Linked DNA regions of Homo sapiens: region 2 is linked to region 1. The links are contacts of gene promoters, found by promoter capture Hi-C in blood cells and fetal thymus (Javierre and others, 2016). All regions are on one chromosome and are shown on one strand. Each heading gives the region's core, a stretch centred on a gene start or on the middle of the fragment in contact. The rest is flanking DNA. Distances are from core to core; before and after follow the strand shown.

Region 1 (2,959 bases), core at 1-2,500:
ATACTGAATATATTATTCAGTAACTTTTAAAATATATTCATATGTAATATGATATATAATATTGTATTATATAATGTATTTATATACAAATGTATAAATTTATACAATTGATTGAAAGTAGAAAATAACACTGGTTTTACTAGTGGCTGGAAGGCCTTCTTAAAACTTTTGATTAAAATGATATTTTATGCTACCATCAAATATTGATCTCATTCCCCGCAAACCTGTTTTATCTAACTTTAGGCAGAATTATAAAACCGGTTAAAATACGGGAGGAAGGATAAAGTGTGCATTCTATTGTACCACAGCAATAATTTTTTTGACCGTAGCATACGCTGGTAGGTTGACATTTAGTTAAACGGGAAATGCTTAAAGCTCATCACAGTCCCTAAATCTCTAAATCATAGATCGTTGTATTGAATGCATTTAGTTTCAGCCTTTTCTCTTTCAAATATTTTGACATAAATAAACCCTGTTGAAATCTCAAAGATGTAGCTTGGATCTTATATATTCCGAACTTGCTATTTAATAAATCCAATGTTACCAGGTTGTTTCATAGTGTATTTTTTAGAACATTTTCTTTCCTTATCCTTCTTAGGGTTGGTAAAGACATCTCCATGGATATCGGAGTACTAGCAATTCCTTAGTAAGAGTAGGAAAGGGATATATTCTTTCCGTTAAGTACTCCTAAAGCCCGGAGTATCTTTACACCATCCAATAAAGCAATCTTTAAAAATATTAGAACTATTGGCTAAATTTATCATATTATGTATGCATTCTGAGAACTGTATGAGTATCTGGATCATATCTATCATCTTCTCAAGTATTTGTTTTATAAAATACTTAGTAAAAATGAAACTAAATCTTGAGCAGTTTTAAGTCATGGTTAATCCTTCTCCATTGTAATTCAAATAATGTAAAGTAAGTCTGAATTTATTAGGACAAAACAGTCATATGCAAATCTCAATCTTGTTATAAGAAGGAATTTTCTAGTTTCACAAAAGAAACCACAAAATTTAATTCTTTTCTCGAAGGCTTTAACATTCTGCATCACAATTTCAATAAATAACGGTCATTCTAAACAAACAAAAATGTTCTTACCGTGCTTCTTTTAATCAGCGTTTTGATTTTCTGCTAGCAGCTTTGTGTCATGTCTTGCAGAAACTCTCTTCAAAGTTGTAACTTTATTTAACTTTAATATAAAAATGTTACTCTTGTTTTTACAGCACAGCTCCAAACTAGAGGTATACCACTTTTGAAGAGTAACTCAAAGTATAAATAGCATTTTGCAAACTGGAAGTAACCATGTGACTATCTATTAGTCATACTGTTGTTTATTACAATTTTCTTCTCGTCAAAAAAGAAAGCTTGCCAAGGAGGAAGGAAGTTTGTGATATAACAATTTAAAGCTGAAGAATAAACACATATTTTCTTACTTTCTCAACTGGGATTCTCATCTGAACCACAGAACACGAAATTGCTCAAGTGGCTGTTTTTCTGATTCATCCAGGAGTGGTACTTAACCACGTATCCTTCCAGAACTGTAGGAGAGGCTGATACTAATTAATTCAACAGCATTCTTTAGGACATTACTGCTTTCTTATCCTGTGTTAAGAAAGATCACCTTAAAAGCGATAGAATCAAAGAAAAAGCAATGGTTTAAACTTTGGCTACTGAAAGAAAAACAAAAACTATTATCTCTCTCTCAAAGACAAATGCGTGCAAAGTCACACGTGTGGGTGTGAGCACACACACAAACACACACAAAGACACACAGAGGGAAAAAAGAAAACGAAAGTAACAAAGTGCCCAGAACGTTATCATCAGCATACAAGATGACACCATTATGCTTTTGCTAAGTTACCAGGCCACAATTTTGTCTTCAAATCTGCTCTAATCAGTTTCCCAGTGATTTTGTATTACCCCTCAACAAATATATTAGGGAGGAAACTGAGGAGAAGAAGCCAGTGTCCCGCAAGCGGCTTCGGGATTAACACTGCATTTGTTCTGAGAGAGAAACTTGAAGAGGAAAAGCAAATGAGAATAGAGAAGAAACTGTAGTACAAAGGAATTAAAACAAAGAAAATATGAAGAGAATAAGAAATACAGGTTTAATCATTTCTGGGCAGAAGGAAAGGACAGATAACAAAATTGCTCTTTTCATTTTTGGACAGAAAAAAAAGACAGAAAATTCATGAGGAAATGAATATATTCTACCTTTGTTGTTAACAAAAGATTGTATCCAAAGAACTATTAGAAAAGCATGTATAGAAAAATATAGAGATTACTCAAGTATGGTTGAGTGAAATTTAGTTTTGTTCCAAAAAGGAAAACAGTCAAGATACAACAGTTAAGATATAAAACATTTTCAACACAGGGAAATGTTCCCCGCTGTTGCTTTGCAGTTCATCCTCACCCCTGAAGCCAGGCAGCAGCCAACTTACTGTCAATAAACATGAGCTTTGCTGGTTTTAGAAATTCCTGTTAAGCAGAATGATACAGTTGGCAATTCTTGTAAGTCTGATGTCTTTCACTGAGCATAATGTTTTTGAGTTTTATCCATGTTTTTGCACAGATCAGCAGTTAATTTCTTTTTATTACTGAGTAGTATTTCATTGTACAGACATAAAATATTTTTATCTATTTTATAATAAAATGTATCCATTATGACATTGAGCTTTTTCCACTTCTTGGATATCATAAGGTCAAAATAAACATTTATGCAAAAGTTTTTCTATTGACACGTTTTTTAATCTTTTGAAGAAATACCTGGATGTGAAACTGCTAGGTTACATAGAAAATGTATGTTTTATTTTATAAATGTATTTTTTTCCAAAAAGTTGTGCCATTCCCAACATGAATATTGGATGGTTCTATTTGCTCCACATAAATAGCAATATTAGATATGCCCAATCTTTTTCAATTTAACCATTCTAGTAGGCGTGTAGTAGAATCTAAA
Region 2 (2,914 bases), core at 142-2,641, 2.5 Mb after region 1:
ATGCTAAGCACTTTATATATATCATGTCATTTAATCTTTACAGATCCCATTATTATCCTCATTTTAGTTAAAACTTACAAAAAGTTGTGGGACATAATATGTGCTTCTTTATTAACCTATTAAGTAACAAGTGGTCATCTAATAACTGCCATAATTTTGACGTGGTATTGAGTATAGATAATATTTTGAAACGTGCAACAAGTCATGTGATATAAAGATATCGGCAATATTTACAGGGGGCAAATCATAGCTACTGCTAATACTACTGTGGCTTTTGCCTACATTCCATTTCAGAAGTCGGTGAAATAATAATTTTTTCCACTCAAGTTCACAGACATCCTGAATTCTATCCATGGATACCTTATCGTGGACTCCCCAGGTTAATAATTCTGGCCAAGGTACTTAATACGCTGCCATATTTTGCAAGCCTCTAGGGAATCAAGAGAAAACCAGGCCAATACTTTATTTTGAATGGATTCTAATGTAGCCTCTTTTCAAGCTTTTGCAAAGAAACCTGAACTATGTAAGGAGATGGGGCAGGAGTTGTTTTCAGTATGCAGCATTGAGAGAAGTGTTTAAGAGTTTTATATCATTAAAGAGGCTCAGCAATATTAGGTTAGCGACGTTTTCTAATCCATTATTATTTAGGCTTTAAGGGCCTGAAGTCGAGTTGAATCTTGTTGAAAGACGGGGTAAAAGGATACAGGCGGGTGAGAGAGGATGCCCCTGAGTTTTAACGTCTGCATACAAGAGTCGCTAAAACTTACTCGCACGTAATTAGTTCAAATATTGGAAATCGTCTTACAGCACACTATAATTTACCAAGATGCTTATAACTGTATACACACACACACTCTACAGAGAATTAGACAATTAGCAGTTTCAATAATGAATACAGAGTCAACGACAAGAAAACAGGGAACATTTTCTCTTCCTTTGAGGAAATGCATGTTGCCTACTGAGCTATTCTTCTGCCTCTCCTTCTGATGTCAACGCAGAGCCAGAGCCATTTATGGCAGGTGCCTTGAGCCCGCCTAGAGGTCCCCTTTGGAATACTGCAGCGACTCAAGGATCCTGGTCAGCCCTTATTGGCCCCAGCTGGTCCTTTGGATGCTCGGGTGTGGGTGAAGGAGCCTCGGCCCCTGGAAAGGAGGGGACCGACTCTCTCCGCAGGTAGCGACGTCGCCTGCGGCCGGTCGGGGGTGGGTATTGGGGAGACCCCTTTACCTGGCGTCGAGAGGACCCCGGCGCCCCTGCTGCCATCCAGGTGCGAGGACAGCTCTGTCGCGCCCGCGGGAAGGACCGGCGAATCCGCGCGGGGGTCTCGGCGAGGACCGCAGCGGATGCTCCGCAGCTCCCGCACCGGCCTGGCGGGTTTTGTGGTTAGCAAGTTCCTGCTTCCGTCGCAGCGACGGCAAGTTTGCCGCGGGGGAAGGGCACGTTCCTGCCCTGCAACCCGGAGCTGCTTCCCGGCAACATTAGCGCGTCCCTCCCCGCGGAGGCTCCGGGCTCCCGGCCCCAGCGCTGAGCCCCGCAGGGAGGTGGCTCCCCCCACCGCCCCGCGCTCCCCCCCAGCTCAGCCACACCGCTGACCCCGGGCTGGGCGCGCTGCGAGGGGGAGTGCGTGCCTCCCTGCTGGTGGCCCGAGGGTCTGCAGGTGAGCCTTGCCTCGCGGCCCGCGCAAGTTAAAATAAATGCACATGGGGAAAATGTCAAACAGTACAAAAATAGACACAGAGACAAGTCTACCCCTCACCCCCGTGCCCCAGTCTCCTAGTCTCCCTCCTCAGAGGCAACCACTGAGAGCAGTTTTTTGATGTTCAAGGGCTTATAGTGCATCCTATTGGGGGCATAGTTCTGAGAATCCTCTTTCCATAATTGGAGGATGGAGTCCTCAATTAAAGATGGCAATTCTTGAGTTAAATATTATCTGCAAGACAAACTTCAGGGAAGGTATTTGGCTTTCTGCGGGATTTATTGTTTGTAGATAGGATAATAATGGTGAAAATGCTGGTGTCTGTAACATATATTAAAACTGTATCCCTAACACTTAGCATAGTGCCTGGTACACAATAGGTGCTCAGTAAATATTTAACTAAAATATTTTTGTTGACTGAATGAATGGAAAAGAACTGCATAGGGCATAGGTTGTGGAAGTTTCTAAATTACTGCTGGCCCCATCCCCACCTCCATAAACACACACACAAATGCAACGTTACTAAACCATTGACACTTAGTTTGCCATATGGTCTAACCTTTGACAGTATCTTCACCTCTGTTTTGAAAGAGCTTGCAGACCTGAAGCGCTATGCAATTGCAAGTTAAGTCTAGGCCTGTACGGCCAACAGCTACACACCCTAGTCTTAACCAATAACTACAGGAGGATTAGGTTGACTGAGAATGCTTGTGAACAAAGGTCCATTGTGTGAAACTAACTCTACTTGTAACCAAAGGATGACTCTTGAATTACAATGTTGCTAAAGCTAGGTTTGAAAGAGTTACCAAAGAAAAGTAAACACCAGAGTAATTTCCCATTGCAGTGATTTTCCTGATGCAACAAGGGACTGATCTGCAAGTGTGTTTTATCTTTTATCATCTGATACACTTCAGGGTTCAGGGTGTAGAGCTATCACAGTTTTTGAATCTCTCTACATGGGGTAATCCATGCTAGTTACAAAGTAGACCTTTCCATTATTAGAAACTTCGTATTCGGTGCTTTAATACAATGAACCTGTTTCTTTTTTTGTTTTGTTTTGTGTTTTGTTTGTTTTTAGAGACGGAGTCTCGCTGTGTTGCCCAGGCTGGAGTGCAGTGGTGTGATCTCGGCTCACTGCAACCTCCACCTCCCGGGTTATAGCAATTCTTTTGCCTCAGACTCCTGAGTAGCTGGGACTACAGGCACATGCCGCCACGC

Evidence for each region. Contacts are between HindIII fragments. The CHiCAGO score rates a contact against its expected background, and 5 or more counts as called.
Region 2: the fragment with the promoter of MANSC1 here is called in contact with the fragment with the promoter of CLEC2B in region 1 in 1 of 17 cell types (non-activated CD4 T cells); the score reaches 6.2 in non-activated CD4 T cells.

The regions. Positions count from the first base shown.
Region 1 is chr12:9,868,104-9,871,062 of GRCh38, forward strand. It overlaps CLEC2B (C-type lectin domain family 2 member B), which reads right to left and starts at 1,251. Exons shown (of 5, transcript NM_005127.3): 1 at 1,102-1,251. The HindIII fragment of the contact is 5,556 bases long and covers 1-1,365 here.
Region 2 is chr12:12,348,851-12,351,764 of GRCh38, forward strand. It overlaps MANSC1 (MANSC domain containing 1), which reads right to left and starts at 1,392. Exons shown (of 4, transcript NM_018050.4): 1 at 1,228-1,392. RefSeq lists a silencer at 1,393-1,702. The HindIII fragment of the contact is 5,175 bases long and covers 498-2,914 here.